3 separate regions of the Homo sapiens genome follow, and all the other regions are linked to region 1. Evidence: promoter capture Hi-C in 16 types of primary human blood cells and fetal thymus (Javierre and others, 2016). All regions are on one chromosome and are shown on one strand. Each heading gives the region's core, a stretch centred on a gene start or on the middle of the fragment in contact. The rest is flanking DNA. Distances are from core to core; before and after follow the strand shown. Region 1 holds the start of ATP5PO (ATP synthase peripheral stalk subunit OSCP). Region 2 holds the start of TMEM50B (transmembrane protein 50B). Region 3 holds the start of C21orf140 (chromosome 21 open reading frame 140).

Region 1 (3,434 bases), core at 1-2,500:
CATTTAACTCAATAACAACAAAAAATTTTAAATAACCTTAAAATCATTACTTTTGTCTCTTTGTATATTCACATATTACATGAGGGTGAGCTACTTACTATTACTAAGGGGTAAACTTACCCAATGAGGATTATGCCAAGTTGCTTGGGAAATCACCTTCCCACGAACCTCCTAGTTTGCTAGGAATGGACCGAGGCTAGCATACCCGTAAGACAGAAAAACACTAACTTCCAAGGAGTGCATGTTTCAAAAATATTTAACCAAAATTTTGGCGTTTCTATTAACAGACCCTTGAGCAGATCATTTGCAACAGACGTACCCTCCTCGGAATGCAAATGCTATCTGAAAATAAAGATGAATTTTTTGAGTACTGCCGCAGAGTTTGATCTGACAAGAAGCCTTAGTTCTGAGAGACACTATCCTGCCCATCAAAAGACAGAGCTGGAATACACAGTTTAAAAATCACCTGCAAGCGCACAGGTCACAGATCACAGGTCACCTTCAAATACTCCAGCTATGGAACGTGTTTTATCAAAACTGCTTGTGAGGATTAAGACTTTTTAATGCTTATGAAAAAATTACCTAAGATGCCAGGAAGGGGTCATGATATGTAAAGCACCATGGTGAGATGCAGCACAAACAGCATAACATTTTTTCAAACTCGATCTTCTGGGTGATTCCGTGGGTTCAAATCTCAATTCTACCACTTACTGACTGAGCAGCCAAAGACTCATTTAAACTTTTCGGCCTCATTTTATTTATAAAACTGTGAAATGTGTTTTACAAATATTCCTTAGCATTACTAGTAAGTGATCTCTGACAGGTTTTACCACAATGGCAAAGGAAGCTGATTTGGGGGCTAGTCCATGCCCCTTCCCCGGAATTCAGCGAAGGGCAGACCCCCTCTCCTGCGCCCCTCAGGCTAGCAGCTTCCAGGGGCTGTGCTCGGAAGACGCCAAGGTTACGGCACGCGCAGCCCCGCGCCTACTGCCCCGTAGGCATCCCGGGGGACAAACGCTGGGTCGTCCTGAGTCGCTCCCACTCGCCAGGTCCCATAACCTTGAAGACTGCCAGACTTCCCCAGCCGAAGCATCGCACCCTGGTGCTCGAGGTTTGGTACCGGTCATCCCAGGAGGGATCCTCCCACTGGCTCTCAGGACCACCTTTCTCTCACCTGCCGGGAGAGCCCGGACACTGCTGGGGCAGCCATCTTCTCCCGGGCGGCTGTAGGTCAAACCCGAGTGGGAAGAGAGAAACGCGCAAGGGCGCACGCGCGCGTTGGCGTAACCGCTAGGTTCTCTGGGAAGTGTAGGCGTAGGGCGTCAGGCCGCAGGCGCAGAGACCTCCCTCGGGCTGGGAGTTGTAGTTCTTAGCAGTGGTAAGGGCTGGACCCTCGGGGTGGAGCCACAGGGCTTCGACTGCATCTGAAAATGAAGTCATTGTTACTGGCCAAGCGGCGCTCACTGTAGAATGGATTTGCTGTCCCCAGTTTTAAAATTTACATTTAGATAAATATGGTGGCATTTGTTCCATTTCACAGTTATTACCAGCGTCACTGGCTTCTTTACACTTCCTTCCCAGCATGCTAAAGCCTGCATCAATGGCTTTTTCTCACGTTGCATACAAAGACAAAACCAAAACAAAACAAAAAGCCCCCAGGAGCCTTGCAGCTCCAGGAGCGGACACCACGTCTCTCTTACCTGGGCCATGACTACCCATTGTTAAATAAAGAATTATTCAGTGATGCTTATTAAAGCATGATAAGGAAGACTTTATTCAGGACCATAGCGATGGGTATAGGACCAGTGCAACAGGGTCTGGGAGTGGGCAGAGAGATTGGGCTCAACTCCGAAAGCAGAATGGGCAAATGGGAATTTATGGCCAAGGAGCAGTGCGGGGGTCAGTGGATAGAAAATTACTTAGAGGAAACTGGGGTAAGAGGGATTCTGGCTAAAATGACCTAGAGGAATCTTGTAGAAGACAGGCCAGGGTGATCAGACATCACCTGGGGGATGGTGAAGGATGAAGACCCTGATCAGATATCAAAGATGATCGGTTGTCGAAGATTGGGGGTTCTGGCTAAACTGACTTAGCAGTTTTGCTAAAACTGGACTTTACAAGGAGGTGCATAGATAGGACTACGAGAAGGTTCAGAAGTCTCACTAAAGTTTGGCCAAGCAAAAGCAAAGAATCCCTGTGGCCCTCCATTCCCCTCCCCTCTCCCCCATCTCACCTGAGTATAGAACTGAGCTGTTGGTTTGTGAGGGCATATGGGATTCTGGTACCTAGATTCTTGATTCTGGCTAGGGCAGAGTGGCTATCTGAGCATCAGGCCTAAAATAGGAGAACCCGGGTTTGAGCAAATTTGATATTGAAACTGAGAACTGGGTACTAGCCTTGGATATAGTTTGTCTGCATCCATAAAAACAACCTATCTTCAACCCATTCTCTCTAAATAGAACTTGGTCGAATTTTCTCCTCTGTCAGAGAAGAGACTGGCTGGCAGAGCAAGGGTCAGTATTCCTGGTTGTAATAGTGGGGGTTCTGTAATCAACTTAAAAGAAAAATTCTCTGCTCAGATTTATTATAGAAACACGTTAATTCACTATTTTGCCCTTTTAGAGAGCAGTTTTCTCATTATTACAATTTTTATTTTTTGAGACAGAGTCTCGCTTTGTCACCCAGGCTGGAGTGCAGTGGCGTGATCTCAGCTCACTACAACCTCTGCCTCCTGAGTTCAAGCGGTTCTCCTGCCTCAGCCTCCCGAGTAGCTGGGACTGCAGGTGTACACAACCACACCCGGCTAATTTTTCTCTTTTTAGTAGAGATGGGGTTTTGCCATGTTGGCCAGGCTGGTCTTGAACTCCTGACCTCAAGCGATCCGCCTGCCTCAGCCTCCCAAAGCTTAGAGGTGTGAGCCACCACACCCAACCCCCTAAAAACTTTTTAAAACGTAGAGAAAGATAAAGAAAGTAATTGTCCTCTTTTCTTCCACTCGGAGGCAATTGTTGTAAATATTTTGGTGTCTTGTTTCTCAATATTTGTTTAGGCTGTGGCCTGAACTACCCTGGCCTGAATCCCAATCAGTTCCTTGGCCCAATTATATAACTTCTCTGTGCTTCAGTTTATTATCTATAAAATGGGTATTATAATAGTATCTGCCTATAGGTCATTAGAAGAAACAAAAAGGTATACATGTAAAGTGCTTAGAACAATTGCCTGAGAGAGTGGTGCTTATTAATTTAGTCTTTTTTTTTTTTTTTTGAGACAATGCCTTGCTCTGTCACCAGGCTGGAGTGCAGTTGTGTGATCACGACTCACTGCAACCTTGACCTCCTAGGCTCAAGCAATCCTTCCACCTTAGCCTCCCCAGTAGCTGGGCCTACAGACACATGCTACCAAGCCTGGCTAATACAACATTTTTTTTTATTTTA
Region 2 (3,447 bases), core at 415-2,914, 440 kb before region 1:
TATAAAAATTAGCCAGGCATGGTGGCAGGCGCCTGTGATCCCAGCTACTCGGGAGGCTGAGGCTGTAAAATCCCTTTAACCCTAGAGGTGCAGGCTGCAGTGAGCAGAGATCGGGCCACTGTACTTGTAGCCTGGTCAACGAGGGAGACTCTGTCTCAAAAAAAACAGAAAAGGAAAATGAGGATAAAATACGATAAATTCTTTACCTTGGCCCCCAGAAGTGAATTCAGAATTCAGAAAAGACTAGCCAGTGTAAGGCTGCTGTAACCCTAGTTGACAGAGAGGAGGGATTGGGGTGGTGAGTGGGAAGGCTGTGTCTCCGGAAGAAGAAATATACGTCCCCACCTCACTCTAATTAAACCTGCTTTTCCAGCGCGATAAATATTCAAGATAACTTTTGGTTTGCATTTCAATAACAAAGTCTTGCACCACTATCTTCAGTTTAAAAAAAAAGTTTAATGTTTGCTCTACGTTTGAAATGCATGCAGGTTTAAAAGACAAGAAACAAAATGATGAAAAAGTGTGACCGGCCTGAGAGTTCAGAGCCTCTGAAGTGTCAAGGGATCCACAGTGCAGGTAGGATGAAGAGTCTGAGAAGGGAGATGGGATCCTCCGAAAAGAGAAAATCGGGTCTTACAGCGCGATGTAAGACGATGCGGATGCCACTTCCCTCCCACCCCGTCCCGTCCGAGGCCTCCGCCCCCTGCCCCTCCGCACCCCCCGACCCAGGCACGCGCAGCGGGGAGCAGCCCAGCCTAGCCCGTCTCACTGCTTTGGTTTTGAAAGGTCACGTATTTACCTTAGAATTTCAGCACCTTCCAACTTACTGTTTTAAGTACCTTTAACCAGCCTATTGGCTAAAAACCGAAACGGTCCTACCCGCGACTACCACTGCTCCAGTGACAATGCTCTGCTGCTACTTATTTAACGGAGCTCAAGGTTTATAATTCTCGAAAGAATGTTGTTCCCCTTCCCTTTCCCCTCCCGCCTCTGTACTTGACTCTCGTAAGAATGAAATCAGAAAAGTGCAGAAAACACAGGCTCCTAGCAATGGTTCGGGGCAAACGGGAGGGGCGAAGAAGGGCTGGAGCCGCCCCGGGGCCCTCGCTCCGGCCTCGGGAGGGCGTCGCGGCCGCAGCAGGGCGTCCCGAAAACCGTCGCCTCCGTGCCCGCCGCGCGAGAAGGTGAAAGGCACGAGATGGAGCCTCTCCAGCCCTCCCCAGGAACGCAACCTGACGGCGTGACAGCGCGGCAGGGCAGCCTCCCCGGGCTGCTTGCGGGTCGCGGCGGCGCCACGGTCACGGTCGGCCCGAAGGGACGCGGGCAGGGGCAAGAAGGGGCGGCGGGGGCTCCGCGGGCCCGAGTCTGCAGGCCGGCGCCGAACGCAGGGAAAACCCGGCTGGACGGCCCCACAGCCCCCAGAAGGCCGGGCCGGACAGGGCCCGACGAGGGAGCCTCCTTACGCGCGGGCGGCGGGCGCGAGCCCTCTACGGTTGCCTGGCGCCGGAGACCCACAGACAGGACTCACCCAGCTTCCTCAAACGCCCACGCCGACTTCAGGCGCGCGCGCAGGAAGGAGACTGCTGCGCCACAACCCTGCCGGCGTCCCGCGGCTCCACCTCAGCCCCGGGAGCCCGGAGCTGGGAGCAGACGCGAGGATAGAGCGCCGGTGAGGCGGGGCGAGGCGCCGTGTGCACCGCAGCGACCAATCGGAGCGCAGCAAGTGGCCGGCCGGGGGCGGGGCGGGACGCGAGGGGGCGGGGAGAGGGCGTTGGCTGGGCGCAGCGGGACGCCGGGCGCTCCTCGCGACCAATCGGCGTGCAGCAAGTGGCCGGCCGGGGGCAGGGCGAGCTCCGAGGGACGGGGTGGGCTGCTCTGCAGGCCTCCCGGAGCCGGAGTTCAGACCCAGCTATCTACGGTTCCGGGCAGAGCGGGACGGGCCTCTCCTGTCCCCTGCCGGTGGGCGGCCGCCGCCGGGCTCCCACTGCTGCGTTTCTGCACGCTGACTTGAAGTGCAGTACCGTGAGATTACGTGCGGACGGAGCTCGAGACCCGGGGGACCAGGGTTTCCCTTCGCCTATGGCCGATCAGTCTTGTCTGTCTGCGAGCTGCCCAGAGTAGGGAAGGTGCTCCGGGAGGGTTCTCGGGAACGGAGGGTCTTTAGAGATGCCTTTTTCTAATCCCCTCAATTCAGAAATGGAGCCCCAGAAAGTTGAAGTTAGTAAACCAGGGCTACCCAGCGAGTGCTGGTTACCCGAGGTGATCCTCACAATACAACTAGTCTTCTGATTTCGCTCGGCGCTCTCCCGTCTATTCACGTAGATTTTTGTCTTTTTTTTTTTTTTTCGTCTTTCTTATAGTCAGATATCTTTCAGCCTCTTGGATTTTCAACATAACTTTAACAGCGTTTGGAAGCCCCGTCTAAATTTCCTACAGAAATGCCTATAACCATTTAGTTGTTTGGGGGAAAGTCGAGCTTTGTTTTTTGGGTGGTTTGTTTGTTTGTTTTGAGACAGGGTCTTGCTCTGTTGTCCAGGGTGGAGTGCAGTGGTGTGATCTTGGCTCACTGCAGCCTCTTACCTCCCACGCTCAATCAATCCTCCCACCTCAGCCTTCCGAGTAGCTGGGATTACAGGTGCGCACCACCATGCTTGGCTAATTTGTGTATTTTTAGTAGAGACGGGATTTCACCTGGCTGATCCTGAACTCCTGACCTCAGGTGATCCACCCGCCTCTGCCTCCCAAAATGCTGGGATTACAAGCGTGGGCCACTGTGCCCAGCCAAGTAGAGTTATTATCAGTGGAAATCTAAAAAGCATTTTACTTGAGGCATAATGAAGTAAAAGGTTTTGTATCATGGAATTATCACCAAAAATGCCATCCTGGATAATGTTCTCCTATAGCTCTTATACATGGGCTAGGATCTAGGTGTTCAATAAATATGTGCTGAATAATTTACTTTTGAAATATGTCACAATGCTGGCATTCCACCAGAAGAGAGGATACAGAAGGGAACACTCTCCTCTCTTTAAGAACCTTTTGAAAGGGGCGGGGGTTGCATGTACCATTTTTGTTTTCATTCTGCTAGTAAAATAGTCACTTGACTACACCAAATTGCAAAGAAGGCTGGAAAATGGGGTTTCAGTACTAAGGAAGGAAAACTAGATATTAGGGGACAATTAGAAGTTTCCAAATCTCATCACTTTTTTTGGGGGGGTGGGGGAGGCATCCCAAAGGGCAGACTGGTTTATTAGGCAGCAGCCAGGAAAATCAGCGGTTGGACTTGTCCCCACACTCCAGCTCATCCTTCTTGTTGATGGCATAGGAGCTGGAGGAGGCCTTGGTGGCATTGATGAGCTCATCCGCCAGGCACTCAGCAATGGTCTTGATGTTCCAGAAGGCAGCCTCACGAGTGCCTGTGCACAGCAGCCAGACGACCTGATTCAC
Region 3 (3,505 bases), core at 900-3,399, 490 kb after region 1:
TTTTTTCATAGACCTTATTTTTTAGAGCCATTTTTTAGATTCATGCAGAATTGAGTGAATTGAGTGGGTGCCCCACCACCCACCACCGCTACCAACATCCCATGTAAGTGTACAAAATTTTTTTTTTCTTTTACAGGCAGGGTTTCACTTTGTCACCCAGGCTGGAGTGTAGTGGACAACCATAGCTCACTGTAGTCTCAAACTTCTGGCTCAAGTGATCCTCCTCCCTCAGCCTCCCAAGTAGCTAGGACTATAGATGTATGCCACTCAGCCCAGCTATTTTTAAATATTTTTGTAGAGATGAGGTCTTGCTGTGTTTCCCAGGCTGGTCTTGAACTCGTGACCTCAAGCAGTCCTCCTGCCTCGGCCTCCCAAAGTGCTGGGATTACAGGTGTGAGCCATTGTGCCCAGCCATAAATTATTCTTTTTGCACTCCTCGGAATGATTACCTCTGAAATGACTGTCTGAATGTACATAACCAACAGTGAATTTTATGATATGTTTAATAGGGGTAGTCTTTTTCTATAAAAATGAAAAAGACAACCACAGATTCTTACAACAGACATCGGCAGCAGCCCCAAACCTAAATAGGGAGGTGTTGTCCCAGCTGCAAGTGGCTCAGCTACAGGGTCTCGAGATGAAACTCCACGGCACAGTCTAATGACCTGCTGGAATTCCTGGAGTTGGCGGGGAGATTGGCTGGATAAGTGGTCTCTGCAGACCCCCATGCGTGCCACCCCTTTGCCCACCATAGCCCACTTGAACCCACCACTGTCATAACTTTCCAGGTCCTAACTGGGACCACCTACTCCCCTTGGAGGGTCCGGATGGAGTTTCCCCTCTGCGGCTGCCTCTCACTCATCCTCCACCACTTTGCCGACAAGGAAGGAAGGACAATCGGGAGGAGGGAGTCTTGCTTGGCGACCATCTGGACAATATCTCGCCCATGGCAAGCTGGATCCCTGTGGATTACTTTGGTGGGTGGAAACTTGGCACACTATTTAATTTGGGCTTTTTGGGGGATGACTGCACACTGGTTCTCTTTTTTTCTCAGACCTAAATTTCGACCACTCAACTTTCAGCCTGCTCACCCCTGCTTATTGCCATCCACCTTTGGGCTGGGTTAGACCTAATCCTCCCCTTGACAAAGCCCTCAAAGTAGCCTTCACAAGATAAGAGTCGAGACCCCTAACTTACCAACAAATTTTAATGAAACTTCTAGTAAACTCAAAGCGCTTTGCCAACATCCTTAGGAGCAACCCAGTTCTCGCAGCACCCCATGTGAGGTCGCTGTTGAAGTATCTTTGGCTGCAGTGGTGTGGAATTCATCTCAACAGAGTTGACGGTAAAGACCAGACATGTAGCAGCCTCACTGCTTGTTGGAGGAACCACCCTTAAGAAAATTTCCCAAGATAGTAGTTTTCCCATCTCCGTACTTTGCTAGTTAATGTTCTCCACTTGCTTGCGTTTATCCTTTCAATTCCTTTGCTAATTAAATTGCTGAAAAGTATACATTGGTAAGAATAGCCACTGTCAATGGACTGCAAACAAAACTCGTTTCTGTTATTGATGATAAACCATTTCAGAGAAGACCAGGCTGAGTCTAAAGGGTTCAGATAATTACAAGGGGAAGGCAGAGAGAGTAGTTCATGGCCACAGGACTTGGCCACCTCTGGGCAACACATAATGCTTGCTAAGCTAATGACTGTAGGGATATAGAACTGGCCCTCAGCCTCTCTGTCTTCCTTTGGCCTCTGCTCTTCCTGCTGCCTTCTCTCTTTGACCACGATGACACACTTTCCATAGGCCTTCCTCACCACATCACAGAACTCAGAGAAGAGGCTGTCTTCTTGTTTGATACACAGCTCGTCTCTTAGGAACACCCGATATTTCCAAGGCACCCATCCTTGACTACCCGCAGCATGCACAATACACCAAGTTGGGGTTTGTATGAAATATCCATCACTAATATCTTCCCCAGTTACGAGACTTTCTGGGATATTGGTTTCCCCAAAATATACGGTCTTAAATCCATCATATTGCAGTGTTCTCAGGGTTTTCAGATATTGGAGGCATTGCTTCCTCTTGATGCCATCAAATTGACTTCTGATAATGACATTTCTTAAAAGAGGGCTTGCAAAGCGAGGCATGGTGGCTTCTCAAGTGTTTTTAAAAGCTTGCACATCTGCATCTGGGGAGAGATGGCAAGTGGGGGATGATGACCTCATAAAGGGCTTTCTTACAGTGGTGCCAGTCCCACACATACACTTCAGATTTCAAGCATCATGGAATAAATACTCAGAACAACTCCCTGCTGACCCATAAAATATGGGAATTGCAGATGCTACCCATAAAAATGCTACTTTGACATCACTTCTGCAATAGGTCTGAGACAGAGGTTGGCAATCTTTTAATAGTAATGAGCCTACCCATTTGGCTTAAGATGGGGAGAAATGTTTACATTCATTCATCCATTTCAAAAATATGTACTGATCACCTGCTGTACACCAGGCATTGTGCCAGGCACCAGGGGTATAGTCATGACACACCCAGGGAGTCCTGGACTTACGTGTTGTGTGTCTGTGTATGCATAGAATTTGTGCCAGTTGCCTTCCCATTTGCACAACTAAGAGTGATTTTTTCCAGGTGGCAGAAGGAAGGTATGGCAAATTGCAAAAGAAAGTCAGTCTGCACACCTAGCTTCCACTGGCGCTTGCAGGTCTTTTTTTTTTTTTTTTTTTTTTTTTTTTTCTGAGAGGGAGTCTCTCTCTGTTGCCCAGGCTGGAGTGCAGTGGCACGATCTCGGCTCACTGCAACTTCCGCCTCCCGGGTTCAAGTGATTCTCCTGCCTCAGCCTCCCGAGTAGCTGGGACTACAGGCACCTTCCACCATGGCCGGCTAATTATTTGTATTTTTAGTAGAGATGGGGTTTCACCGTGTTAGTCAGGATGGTCTCGATCTCCTGACCTTGTGATCCGCCCGCCTCGGCCTCCCAAAGTGCTGGGATTACAGATGTGAGCCACTGCGCCCACCCGGAGCTTGCAGTTATTGAACTAATTCAATACCTCATCTTGAAAGCACTTTTAATTTTATATACTCAGGCAAAATGACAGTTTGCTTCAAACTCTAACCATCTCTTCCTTTGTATTTTCTTGCCTCTTTAATCAGAGCTAAAGACATTTCATAAAATGGGCATGAAGGATTCCTTCAAATGAAGACGTGGACAAAATGATTGGTCAGGTCCTTTGCTCTACTGTTGAATGGAGGAGGATTTTTTTTTTTTTTCCCTCACACAGGGGTTTTCTTGGAGCTCAAGTTTGGATGACCCCAGACAGTAAGATAATCTCATCATGGTAAAGTTAATATGAAATATGTGGTCTCCAAACAGCCTCTCCCAGAGGCCAGGATCAGCAGGTTTGAGTGGATAATTGGCTTGTGGTCATTTTCTCATAGGATTTTTCTTTTAGTAGTGGAAACTGTTTTTCAAATCAAATTTGGATGCCAA

What was found. Contacts are between HindIII fragments. The CHiCAGO score rates a contact against its expected background, and 5 or more counts as called.
Region 2: a contact is called between the fragment with the promoter of TMEM50B here and the fragment with the promoter of ATP5PO in region 1, in 1 of 17 cell types (fetal thymus). The highest score is 6.6, in fetal thymus.
Region 3: the fragment with the promoter of C21orf140 here is called in contact with the fragment with the promoter of ATP5PO in region 1 in 8 of 17 cell types (naive B cells, total B cells, naive CD8 T cells and 5 more); the score reaches 11.7 in naive B cells.

What each region holds. Positions count from the first base shown.
Region 1 is chr21:33,914,554-33,917,987 of GRCh38, forward strand. ATP5PO (ATP synthase peripheral stalk subunit OSCP) reads right to left here and starts at 1,251. Exons shown (of 7, transcript NM_001697.3): 1 at 1,175-1,251. The coding sequence starts at 1,210. RefSeq lists enhancers at 1-308, 823-1,432. The HindIII fragment of the contact is 2,999 bases long and covers 1-2,902 here.
Region 2 is chr21:33,478,310-33,481,756 of GRCh38, forward strand. It overlaps TMEM50B (transmembrane protein 50B), which reads right to left and starts at 1,665. Exons shown (of 7, transcript NM_006134.7): 1 at 1,529-1,665. It also overlaps the pseudogene RPS5P3. The HindIII fragment of the contact is 5,416 bases long and covers 1-3,447 here.
Region 3 is chr21:34,398,923-34,402,427 of GRCh38, forward strand. It overlaps C21orf140 (chromosome 21 open reading frame 140), which reads right to left and starts at 2,150. Exons shown (of 1, transcript NM_001282537.2): 1 at 1,190-2,150. The coding sequence starts at 2,150. The coding sequence ends at 1,395. The HindIII fragment of the contact is 9,278 bases long and covers 1-2,174 here.